Regions from separate parts of the Homo sapiens genome. Here regions 2, 3 and 4 are each linked to region 1. Evidence: promoter capture Hi-C in human tissues and cell types (Jung and others, 2019). All regions are on one chromosome and are shown on one strand. Each heading gives the region's core, a stretch centred on a gene start or on the middle of the fragment in contact. The rest is flanking DNA. Distances are from core to core; before and after follow the strand shown. Region 1 holds the start of CCDC85A (coiled-coil domain containing 85A). Region 2 has its middle 630 kb from the start of CCDC85A. Region 3 has its middle 580 kb from the start of CCDC85A. Region 4 has its middle 860 kb from the start of CCDC85A.

The links. Contacts are between HindIII fragments. The study calls those that stand out against the background at their distance.
Region 2: a contact is called between a fragment that was not itself captured here and the fragment with the promoter of CCDC85A in region 1, in 2 of the 25 tissues and cell types used here (H1 embryonic stem cells and mesenchymal stem cells).
Region 3: a fragment that was not itself captured here is called in contact with the fragment with the promoter of CCDC85A in region 1 in 2 of the 25 tissues and cell types used here (dorsolateral prefrontal cortex and lymphoblastoid cells).
Region 4: a fragment that was not itself captured here is called in contact with the fragment with the promoter of CCDC85A in region 1 in 1 of the 25 tissues and cell types used here (lymphoblastoid cells).

Annotation. Positions count from the first base shown.
Region 1 is chr2:56,182,332-56,185,504 of GRCh38, forward strand. CCDC85A (coiled-coil domain containing 85A) reads left to right here and starts at 1,659. Exons shown (of 6, transcript NM_001080433.2): 1 at 1,659-2,569. The coding sequence starts at 2,294. The region is part of intron 1 of LOC100129434 (a long non-coding RNA gene); the gene reads right to left. RefSeq lists a silencer at 1,329-1,658. The HindIII fragment of the contact is 12,191 bases long and covers 1-3,173 here.
Region 2 is chr2:56,810,685-56,813,858 of GRCh38, forward strand. No RefSeq gene overlaps it. Among named protein-coding and RNA genes, the nearest start is that of CCDC85A, 630 kb to the left of the region's middle. The HindIII fragment of the contact is 4,228 bases long and covers 1-3,174 here.
Region 3 is chr2:56,760,483-56,763,522 of GRCh38, forward strand. No RefSeq gene overlaps it. Among named protein-coding and RNA genes, the nearest start is that of CCDC85A, 580 kb to the left of the region's middle. The HindIII fragment of the contact is 6,668 bases long and covers 1-3,040 here.
Region 4 is chr2:57,040,883-57,044,193 of GRCh38, forward strand. No RefSeq gene overlaps it. Among named protein-coding and RNA genes, the nearest start is that of CCDC85A, 860 kb to the left of the region's middle. The HindIII fragment of the contact is 9,220 bases long and covers 1-3,311 here.

The DNA.
Region 1 (3,173 bases), core at 409-2,908:
TCAAAGAAAAATTGCATCCGATATAGTTAAACAGACAAGGGGGAATTATTCAAGGCTATTGCAATAGGGAAGAGAGAGAGGGAGGGAGAGGGGAACTAGTAGAAGACTAGTGGAGGAGATTAGGATGGGAAGTTGGTCAGTGTAATGAGGCCATTTGTGTTTCCTAATTGGAACTTATTAAAGTTAGGCTCCTCCTCTCCACAAACACTAGGAGATAGGGACCCTTTTTTCCTTGATGATTACATTTCAAAGGGATGCCTCACAGATCCCTGAGAAAGATCCCCAGGCTGTAAAACCCAGCAAGAGGCGGAGAGATTTACATGTCAAAGGGTCAGAGGAAACATTCACCAATGGAAGTTGGCTAAAGTAAATGCTCTGAGAAAAGGAAGGTCTGGGGCCTACAGTTAGGAAGAAACCTGTCTAAAGTTTAGTTAAGCTGAGGGGAATGTTAAGGCCATTTGGTCACCGTAAGCAGTACCACATTTCCTTGCCTCTCCCGGGAGCCAGGTCTCAGTGTCCCCAATAGGGGACACGCACTGACCGGCGGGTGAAGGGACTGATTTTGATTATCATCCTACCAGATAGAGATTATTCCCTCTGCACCCGGGTTAACTGAAACCCGGTGGGGGTAGATCCTTGCCATTTTCCGGCCCTGTACCCCACTGGAAATAACATGCGGTGGTCAAGGGCATCCACCTCTTTAGGCAAAAGCATGTTTTCAGCCCAGAGACGATTCCACCCAACTTTACAAGAGGATAGCCCAAAGATAGAAGCCAGGGACTCAGACTTCCTCCTTCCAGAAATAACCATCATAAAAAAGCCGACCCAGTAAACGCCTGGCAGCCTGCGGCATAGAAGAAAATGGAAATCTCCTTGGCTGGCATTTCAGCTTGCCTGAGGGGGCTTGCTTTGCTCCGAGGGGAGGTGACTGTGCTGACCTTAAAATCCAGGTTTCAGGAAGCAGGAGATGAAGGTATTTTATTTTCGCCTAAAGGCTTTGATATTTTTCAAATAAAAATTTAAAAGATCCAGTACCTTCTCCCGAAGCTTCTTCATAGAGTAGTGGATTTTTAGAAAACACAAAGGCCTAGGGGTGGGGCGAGAGTGGGGGGTGGGGATGGGTAGCCCCATAAGAGCAGTGCCCTGACGCCTCTTTTCGCCCTTTTCAGACCATTTGGATTTTCTTAAGCTGCCCCTTTCCCCAACCCCCGTTTTTGCCATTTGCCTCTCCTCCCATTCTCCAAAGTGCAAATAACTGGTTATCCCTCAGGTCCTGCTACCCCATCTTTCCTGATCCCCGATCCCTCCAAATACGAAGCACCTCGCATTTGGGTCAGCAGCTGTTTCCCCTGCCTGGTGACAAGGCCGGTGTGCAGAGGGCAGAGGAGGGAGCTTCTTCCGCCACACGGTGGCGCGCGCGAGCCTCCCAAAGACCGGGCGGCCACAGCTCCTCACCTTCTCCCCATTCCAGCCCCACCCGCCCGGGCGCAGAAAGAGCCGCGCCCCCAGCCCTCCCGGGCAGGACAGCCGGGAGCGCACCTCGAGGGCCCGGGCAGCGGTCGAGTGGCAGCTGCGTCCAGCCCATGCGGGAGCTGCTGCGGGTTACGGGTGGCCCCAGCTCCAGGCTCCTCCTCCAGCCGGTCCCCCACCCTCCACCCCTTCTCGACTCCGCTCTGCAAATCGAAGGCTTTCCGGAGCAGCCTAGGAGCGGCCGCGGGCGCAGCGAAGGCGGCAGGAGGAGCGCAGCAGCCTTCGGGCAGCCGCGGCGGCGTCGCTAGAGCAGCCGGGGAGGCGCCGCGGTGCCCGGCGCGCCCTCCAAGCTAGGAGAGGGGAGAAGCCGGGGGCTGCAGCTGGGCAAGGGGGAGGAAAGTGCGTGTGCGTGCACGCCTGTGTGCAGGGCAGAGAGTGCGGGGGGCGACAGTCTCGGCTTAGGGCGGAGGAGAGGGCAGGGGAACGGCGGTGCAGCTCCCCCGCTGTCCCCGAGGATTTCCCGCGGCAGCCCCGGGCTCCCCAGTGCCCCTCACCATGGACTTGCGCGGAGTTGGGACGGGCCTCGGCAGCAGCAAGCGGCTGGCTGCCGGGCCCTGGGGGAGCGCGGGCGCGCGCGCGGGGATGGCGAGGTAGGATGGCCACCCAGCGCGACCCCCGCCGCCCCAACCCAGCGGCCCCTGGGCGGTGCCGCTGACTCGCCGGAGCGCACAGGGGTGTGGGCGGAGGCGGCCTCGCCGCGCCCGCGCCTTCGGGAGTCGCCTCGCCTCTTCCACCCACTTGCACCTGCCACCCCGCGGATACCATGTCGAAGGCGGCCGGAGGCGCGGCGGCGGCTGCGGCGGCGGCGGAAAGTTGTTCCCCAGCCCCGGCCGGCTCGTCCGCGGCCCCGCCCGCGCCGGTGGAGGACCTGTCCAAAGTGTCGGACGAGGAGCTGCTGCAGTGGAGCAAGGAGGAGCTGATCCGCAGCCTGCGGCGCGCCGAGGCGGAGAAGGTGAGCGCGATGCTGGACCACAGCAACCTCATCCGCGAGGTGAACCGCCGCCTGCAGCTGCACCTCGGCGAGATCCGCGGCCTCAAGGTGAGCGCGGGCCAGGTGGGGAGGCGCGGCGCGGCTGGGAGCGGGGTGCCCCGAGGAGGAGGCGGGGCCAGGCAAACTTTCCCTCCCTCCCTCAACAGGTGACCCTCCCCTTCTCCCGGTCGGCACCCCCTACCCCCAGTCCCCAGCCCCTGTGTAACTTTTCCAAACTTCGGAGGCGTCTGCTCCCCTCCTCTCCCCAACACGGGGCGCTCCACTGTCTGGCTGTTCGGGGAGGCGCTGAGGACGCTGGAAAGCAGGGAGGGAGGTGAAGGGCACGCGAACCTTTCATTTCTTAGGGAGGCTGGAAAATCTGTGCCTGGGGAGCCGGGTTTCAGTCAGTTAGGCGGAAAGGCCAGTGAGGGGGTGAATCCAGGGGATCTTCGCCTTGGAGGGTCGGGAATGCGGCTGCTCTGGGCCAGCAGCTCTTGGGCGGGCAGAGGGCGAGGAAAGGGCGCCACTGCCAGGGAGAGCGGCTGGCGGGGCGCCCGGGAGAAGCAGCGGGCGCCACCCTCAGAGCAGTCTTGTGTCACCGGGTACATAGGAGTTCAAGCTCTGCCTTCACGTCTTCTCCCAATTCCTGTGCTTTCCCTCTCCCGGAGTTTGG
Region 2 (3,174 bases), core at 511-3,010, 630 kb after region 1:
CACCTCCATCCAGAAAAGTCACTTTTGCAGTCATTAAAGCTTGTATTCTTGATATCCCTGACTTGATACTTCATTAACCTGTTAGTATATGGAGAACTATTGCCTAATCAGAAGTTAGTTCCAATATGAAAAAAATAGTATAGAAGAATAGGCTAATGGGAAAAAAAATGACTCAAGTCCATGGTTTGTCAGGTGGGATGCTGTGAAGTCAAGCAGAGGTTTTCTCTAGTTTTGATTTAGGCAGAAATACTGTCCACCCACATAGAAAACGGGAGGTTTCTTGGTCTCCATTGTGTATTCTCCCCTTGGTAAGGTATCACAAACACTTGGCACATTTTGTTATGGCTTACTCTTTTATCTGGGAGAGTGATAGCTGATTAATCATACTGCTCTATTACCTTGCACTTGCTGTAACCTCACATTCTTTGTCACAATCTAAGCATCTTCCAGCATTATAGAGAATGTCACGTAAGATGAAAACTCCTTGCCATTCCTTCCTATTTCAGATTGATGATTGATATGGTTTGGCTCTGTTTCCCCACCCAAATCTCGTAGTTCCCCAAATTCCCACACGTTGTGGGAGGGAACTGGTGGGAGATGATTGAATTATGGGGGCAGGTCTTTCCCGTGCTGCTCTTATGACAGTGAATGGATCTCACAAGATCTGATGGTTTTAAAAATGGGAGTTGCCGTGCACAAGCTCTCTTTGCCTGCCACCATCCATGTAAGACGTGACTTGGTCCTCCTTCCCTTTTGCCATGATTGTGAGGCCTCCCCAGCCACATGGAACTGTGAGTCCAATTAAACCTCTTTCTTTTGTAAATTGCCTAGTCTCGGGTATGTCTTTATCAGCAGCATGAACACAATGACATAGATTTGGCTATTTGCCTAGCTCTTTATTTCACTTTTGTTATCTCTTGGACTGACTCTGTTTTATATGCTGCAACTCAGTCTTGTTTCCCTTCCAGACTCCTGATATAGTCTTCTTCAAGTGGATCTTGGTGACCATGTAACTCTCTCTCAATTACTTGGACTTGTAATGAGAGACCTGGTAATCCCACAAATGTCTCCCAGAACAAATAGATTTGATGGTAAAAAAAAAAAAAAAAAAATCATTGTCATGATCTCATTCTGTGAATGAAACTACTGATAAAATGAAAGAGAAAAGGTACTAGTTCATAAATTTTGAATTAAATGAATGTAAGAGTGAACATCAAAGCTAATCAAGAGACAAAAAGATTGAGGCCAGAGTACAGAATAAGATAATGAAGGCCATTACTAATGTGCCTTCTTTTCTTCCTTTTATTACTAAGTAATTATTTTACAGTATAATTAATCTCTTACCAAAAATAATCTCCCATTAGACATTTAAACTTTTCCCCAAGTAGTTCTAGTCTCTCTCCATCTCACTGGAAGAAATAGTAACAGAGTGAATGTAAAGGGAAAGGTTATAAAAGGATTTCAATTTCCTTTATTAAATGACTCTAATTATTTTCACTAAGCTTCCCTTAAATGAACATACTCAGACATTCTCTCCAAATCTTCTCACTACTCAAGTAGCTCTTCAAATGTCAATCTTGCCTAAATATTACTTTGCAATTTTTTCTTGTTTTCAGAGATATAAATACAAAGAAAAGGAAGTCTTCCATTGAATCTTTCAACATTTTTTATTATAATTAAAAAAAATTCGTCTCATTGCTGTTCATGTCTTAGCTGTTTGGAATAAAAGGTCAAAGAAAAAAACACTTTTTTTGTGATCTGTCAGAAGTTCATATTTTTTATTTTCTTGCTGGCAGATTCTTTCAGTTTCAGTAAGGATAATTTTGAGGGCTTATATGTAATTATTCATTGAAACATATTTTTCAAAATTAGTCTCAGAATCAGATGAAACTGATTAGATCTTAGAGTTCAGACATGAAAATTTGCCTCAAGGAAACACTAAAAAATGTATGTCACTTCCAAATAGTATGACTAATAGTTACATAAACAGACATATTATTTACCAAGGAGAAAGTTAGTCTAAAATATTTTTCACGAAATGATTTTGGAATTAGTATGTGTAGGTTATGACAGACTTGAGACTTTCCTGTTTCATTCTATCATTTTGTTCATAATCTATTAACAAAGAATAATTTGATTTAGATCAATCTCAGAACACTAAAAGTATCAGATGATGACTATTCCTTAATCACCTGATTAAATTGTTAAGGAAACCTGCTGTCTCTTTACTCACAAAAGAAACACATCATTCTTATTAAGAAGCAAGGGAAGACAGAAGATTCAGAAACAAATTACATTTTCTTGTGGTAATAACAATTTTTGGGGGGGTTGAAATTGCATTGTATAAATTTACCTCTTGTATTTTCACACTGATGAACAGTTACCCATTCCTTAGTTACCCGTAGAGATCTACTTGAGCTTATACACAAGAACCTTTGTTCTTTGAATTACTTATATTTTTATGTGGAAAGGCAGGTAGTTGTGAAAGAAGTAAAAAAAAATGTGATGGTTTTTCCTAACCTAATCTTATGCCCTTTTTATGTTTCCTCTGCCTGTTAGGATTATAATAAAGTTAAAATGTAACAAGTTAAGCAACCAAGGTGTTTTTTGGTAGATGAATGGGTAAACTGTGATACGTTCAGGCAAAAGAATATTATTCATTATTAAAGATTAATAAGCTTTCAAGCCATGAAAAGACATGGAGAAAACTTTAATGCATATTACTAAGTAAAAGAAACCATTCTGAAAAGGCTAAATACTGTGGTATTTCATATGTAACATTCTGAAAAAAGCAAAACTATAGAGACAGTAAAAAGACCGGTAGTTGCCAGAGTATGGGGGAAGAAGGGATGAATAGGCAGAGCACAGGGACTTTTAGGACAGTGAAATTATTCTGCATGATACTATAATGGTGGATACCTGTCATTATACTTTTGGCAAAACACATAGGAAGTACAACACCAAGACTGAAACTTGATGTAAACTATGGACTTTGGTTGATAATTATGTGTCAACGTAGGTCCACTGATTATAACAAATGTACTATTCTGGTGAGGGAATGTTGATAGTGGGGGAAACTGGGCATGTGTGTAGTCAGAGCATATATAAAAATCTCTAAGTAGTTACTGTTCAACTTTGCTAAGAACCTAAAAATTACTCTAAAAAATGAAATCT
Region 3 (3,040 bases), core at 359-2,858, 580 kb after region 1:
AAGACTTCATGACTAAAACACCAACAGCAATTGCAACAAAAGCCAAAATTGACAAATGGGATCTAATTAAACTAATGAGCCTCTGCACAGCAAAAGAAACTATCATGGGAGTGAACAGGCAACCTACAGAATGGAAGAAAATTTCTGCAATCTATCCATCTGACAAAGGGCTAATATCCAGAATCTACAAAGAACTTAAACAAATTTACAAGAAAAAAACCAACAACCCCATCAAAAAGTGGGCGAAGAATATGAACAGGCACTTCTCAAAAGAAGACATGTATGCTGCCAACAAACATATGAAAAAAAGCTCATCATCACTGGTCAATAGAGAAATGCAAATCAAAACCACAATGAGATACCATCTCATGCCATTTAGAATGGCGATTACTAAAAAGTCAGGAAACAACAGATGCTGGAGACGATGTGGAGAAATAGGAAAGCTTTTACACTGTTGGTGGGAGTGTAAATTAGTTCAACCATTGTGGAAGACAGTGTGGCTATTCCTCAAGGATTTAGAACCAGAAATACCATTAGACTTAGCAATCCCATTACTGGGTATATACCCAAAGGATTATAAATCATTCTACTATAAAGACACATGCACACGTATTTTTATTACAGCAATATTCACAATAGCAAAGACTTGGAAACAACCGAAATGCCCATCAATGATAGACTGGATAAAGAAAATGTGGCACATATACACCATGGAATACTATGAAGCCATAAATTAGCAAGAGTTCATGTCCTTTGCAGGCACATGGATGAAGCTGGAAACCATCATTCTCAGCAAACTAACACAAGAACAGAAAACCAAATACTGCATGTTCTCACTCATAAGTGGGAGTTGAACAATGAGAACACATGGACACAGGGAGGGGAACATCACAAACTGGGGTCTGTCAGGGGGTCGGGGGCTGGGGGTGGATTAGCATTAGGAGGAATACCTAATGTAGATGACGGGCTGATGGGTGCAGCAAACCACTATGGCACGTGTATACCTATGCTACAAACGTGCAGGTTATGCACATGCATCCCAGAATTTAAAGTATAATAAAAAAAGTATGTTAAAAAAGTAAAACAGTGTATCTTTACAAGTCATAAAGCAGTCAGATCTAGAAAGAAGAAGTACCATTTCTCAAGACAAGAACCAGATAACTATTATCTCAAAACCTACAAGGGCTTTTTTCCAATCTCCAGTTTATAGATTTTTTTTTAACACAAAAGCACTTTAGTTTCCAGATTAGAAGAAGCCAAAATCTCCCCCAGAAAGATAACTCACTTCTTATTAGTGGTTTAATTTTTTAAAAGGCTAAGTTTCATTCCTGTGCATTTGATTGCAGAGCAATTGAGTGGTAGGGGGATATTTTGCAAGGGAGAAAAATTGTGTGAGAAAACAGCAAATTCCTTACCTGGAGTTTTTACTTTAGCATTTAAATTTACACCTTCAGTCATCATAAAGATTATCATAGTGGTGAATTTCAAAATTTCTTGTTGTGTTTTGATTTATTAAGACAGCAAGATGAGCAAAATGAAGTTGTAAAAATTTGTAGAAATGTTTACCAGTTTGGATTTGGCTAGGATTTTCTCTTGTTTAACTTTTTTAGGGAAAGATTTATGAATCTTGAGTAATCAGCTTAAAATGCTGTATACGTATCCATGGGTTAGACATGAAACTCTCACCTTTATAGCAACTTTAAGTGAATATTTAGGCCTGAAATACTTCGATTTGAACTAAAAAATAGTATGGAGAATCCTTCCTTGAATCTTTGGAAGTTGATTGTTGTTGTATTTATGTAAATATAACACGAAGACTTTGGGCTTGTACAGACAGCAGCCCTGGAAGAATATATTTAATTTAGAATTATTGCACCAACAAATGAGTTACTTGATGAATGAAACTATACTATGGTATAAATAACACATGATTTACTAAATAGTCAACTTCTGTGTATGTTGATAGAAAGATTAGAATAATACTTAGTAGCAAACATAGTTGTTTCGGTAATATTTCCAATTTCTCTTTACTAAGAAATTGGTGAAATTCACCCGTGTCAAGTCCCGGGAAGTGCTTCTGTCATGGTCTTCTTTGTATGGTCTTTTGTTGTCCTGACGTGACATCTAAATCAAATTTTCTAGCTTCCACCTTGATAGAAGCTAGGTTTAGAGAGCCATTGCAAGTTTTATTTCAGTCTATTTCTGCAATTTCTTAGTTTCTCAACTATATTCCTATGGGATTACTTCATATTTTGTCTAATTTTGTTTTACAGGTGTGAGGGATGCCAGATGTTATGGGATTTTCTCTCCTCTAGTATATGTTTGGGAAAAGGTGATGGCTGCCCTAGAGTGAAATGATTTGTCTGTGCTATTCAGGCAGACATTTCAGGTTACAAGTCCTGCTCTGACTCTTTTTGGGGAAAGAAATGCCCTCTAGGTTGAGGTCATGGAACACAATGGGCTGCCATATTTAATAAGACATTAAATCTATGTTCCCTTCATGCTTTACTATTAAATTATCAGTGTTTTATTATTTACCTAGTTTACTCCAATGTGTGTGTAAGACGACATCTACAAAATTAGTATACTTTTTAAAGGAAAGAGCCAAATTATGTAAATATTTGTAAGTAGTAAGAGGCAGCTTGAAAATGAGATCTGAAACCTTTAGTATCTACAACAGGACTCATTCTTTCTTTATTCTCAGTTCTTGTCCCAACACATCGATACCCATTCTTTCTGTCCATATGGTGTTTTTTTTGTTTGTTTGTTTGTTTGTTTTTTTGTTTTTTTTTTCTACCCTAACTGTTCTCTATTTCCCAGAATAAGTAGATAACATATAGCTCTTTGGCCGCAGACCAAAACATTAACAACTTTGAAACTTTCATCTTTTACATCCTATTTGGAAATCTTACCTTAGAAGATTTTCTTGAAAATAGCCCCTTAAAGGAGTTATACTAATGGGGGCTAGGCTTTAAAAGGTTTCTTGGAATTATTAACCTTAAATATTAAAATGTATTATATTAATTTAAATGATATATTT
Region 4 (3,311 bases), core at 130-2,629, 860 kb after region 1:
TCTGCCAGGTTGTCACCTTCTTTTTGGCACTCAATGCTGCCTTAAGCCCAGGTTTGTCTCAGCTCTAGTAAATGATCAGAGTACTGCTTGTCATGAATGAGAGAGGTCCTTTTGTGGATATCCAAATGTTGTGTGAAGGCTGGTTATGGATTCATATGAAGAGGATCTGTGGAACATATCTTCTATAGTATGGTACTACTGAACAGCTACTCTGATTTGATATCTCCTTTGGCTAAGTTATAGAGAAGAGTTTCCAGGGCTGGGGATGGTAGTCTCCTCTCTCCCGTTTGTCACTGGCTGTTCTTTAGAACATTTCTGTCTTGAGGCTCTTCTGATGCTTCCTGTCGGTTGAGGGAGGAACTGGTTTCTTGCCAGGAAATCCCAGATGATGGGAAGTCTGGTTGTCCACATCACTATTGCTGTTTTCAGTATAGACACCATGAGTCAGAGATAAATTTTCTGCACACTTAATGCTGGGCAGATTGAGGGGTGGGACATTGTGGGTATGGAAGTCCCATTCATTACCATCTGCTTGGAGTTCTTTGAGTTCTGAGATATTGCTGATAATCTCAGCACTGTATATTTGTGTCTGATTTTCTGTGCAGGGAGGAGTAAAGCCAACTGCCTTATATGTCATCATTTTGGGAACAAAATGGCCTATAATTTTTTTTGATGTGTTATTGAATTCAACTTGTTAGTATTTAATTATTTTTGAAAGCATATACATATATTGGCCTTGTAGTTTTTTTTTTTTTTCTTGTGATGTCTTTGTCTGATTTTGATGTAAGGGTGATGCTCACCTCATATAATAAAGTTTGGAAATATTCCCTCTACTTCTATTTTTTGGAACATTTTAAGATAGATGGGTATTAATTTTTATTTCGTTGTTTGATATAATTCAGTCATGAACTTATATGACCCTGAGCTTTCCTTGTTGGAAGGTTTTTGATTCCCACTTCAATCTCTTTATTTGTTATTTATCTTTCAGGCTTTCTATTTCTTCTTGATTTAGTCTTCAGAATGTATGTTTCTAGAATGTTAACCCTATCTTTCAGGTTATTGAAGTTTTTGGCATACTATTGTTCATAATAGTCCTCTTTGACATTCCTCATGGAACTAGAAGAAACTATTTTAATATTCATATGGAACCAACAAAGAGCCCGAATAGTCCAGGCAGTCCTAAGTAAAAAGAACAAGGCAGAAAGCATCATGCTGCCCAACTTCAAATTGCACTACAGGGCTATAGTAATCAGAACAGCGTGGTACTGGTACAGAAACAGACACATAGACAAATGGAACCGAAAAGGCAGCCTGGAAATAAGGCTGCATACCTACAACCATCTGATCTTTGACAAAGCTGACACAAACAAGCAGTGGGGACAGGACTCCCTATTCACTAAATGGTGCAGTGATAACTGACTAGCCATATACAGAAAGCAGAAACTGGACCCCTTCCTTTCACCATATATAAAAATCAACTCGTGATGGATTAAATACTTAAATGTAAAACCAAAACTATATTAAAAAAAAACTCTGGAAGACATCCTAGGCAATACCTTTTTGGACATAGGCCCTGGCAAAGATTTCATGACTAAGACACCGAAAACAATTGCAACAAAAGCAAAAATTGACAAATATAAACTAATTAAACTAAATAGTTTCTACATATCAAAATAAACTATCAAAAGAGTAAACATCCTATAGAAATGGGAGAAAATATTTGCAAACTATGAATCTGACAAAGGTGTAATATCTAGCATTTATAAGTAACTTAAACAATTTTACAAGAAAAAACTAAACAACCCCATTGAGAAGTGGACACAGACATAAACAGAAAATTGTCAAAAGAAGACACAGATGCAGCCAACAAGCATATGAAAAAAGTTCAGTATCACTGATCATTAGTGAAACGGAAATCAAAACCACAATGAAATATCATTTCACACCAGTCAGAATGGTTATTATGAAAAAATAAAAAAAATAACAGATGCTGGTGAGGTTGCAGATAAAAGAGTGTGTATACACTGTTGGCAGGAATGTAAATTAGTTCAACTGTTGTGAAAAGCTGTGTGGTGATTCCTCAAACAGCTAAAATCAGAACTACCATCCCACTCAGCAATCCCATTCTTGGGTATATACCCAGCAGAATATAAATCATTCTGTTATAAAGACAGAAGCATGCATATATTCATAGCAGCACTGTTCACAATAGCAAAGACATGTAATCACTCTAAATGCCCATCAATAGAAGGCTTGTAAAGAAAATGTGGTACATATACACCATGGAATACTATGAAGCTATAGAAAAGAACAAGATCATGTTCTTTGCAGGAACGTGGATGGAGCTAGAAGCCATTATTTTTAGCAAACTCATACAAGAACAGACAACCAAAATACTGATGTTCTCACTCATACGTGGGAGCTAAGTGGTCGGAACACATGGATACAAAGAGGAGAACGGACACCATGGCCTACCAGAAGGTTGAGGGTGGGAGCATAGAGAAGAGCAGAAAAACTAATTATTGGGTACTAGGCTTAGGAACCTGCTGATGAAGCAATCTGTACATCAAACCTCCATGACAATAGTTTACCTAGCTAACAACCTGCACATGTACCCCTGAACCCAACATGGAAGTTAAAAAAAAATCATGTTGTATGTCTTAAGTATATACAAGAAAAATAGCTTAATAACAAAATGAAATAACAACAAAAACAGCATTTAGCTTAGGTCTTGGTATTTCATGAAATATCATGATATTTCATGATATTTTTATTTATTCATAAATAAAAGTATTTCATGATTTTTTTACATATAAAATATTTTGTTTCTCATTTTTATTAGCAGTTTCAATGTACTTTTTCTTAACTGAGTTTGAGATAGTTTGTGAAGAAGCAAAATTCACTTATTAAGTAGATGGCGAAAGCACCACAGTCCCAGAGGAAAACACTTTCTTCCTGAAATCTTACTTCTAACAGAGTAGCATTGTTATAAGGCATGTCTTTGAGAGGTACATTGGAAAGTGCCTCTGTGGAAAAGTACTTTTTTTTCAGTGTCAACAAAAGTTTGACTGATTTTTCTCTGTTGGGCAGGTGGACTATCTTTGCATAGTATGTTAACTCCAGAGCTGTTTTCTTGTGATAAGTGTATACTTTCTAAAAACTGAAGCCAAAGTTGATGAAAACGATGAGAAATAAAATATCATTCCAGTGTCAATATCTAAAGGCACATCCTTCATCAGAATTATATTTTAAATATCCATGAAGAAAAATATAGAGACTTACATATGTATGGATAAGAAGTTCTGATTCAT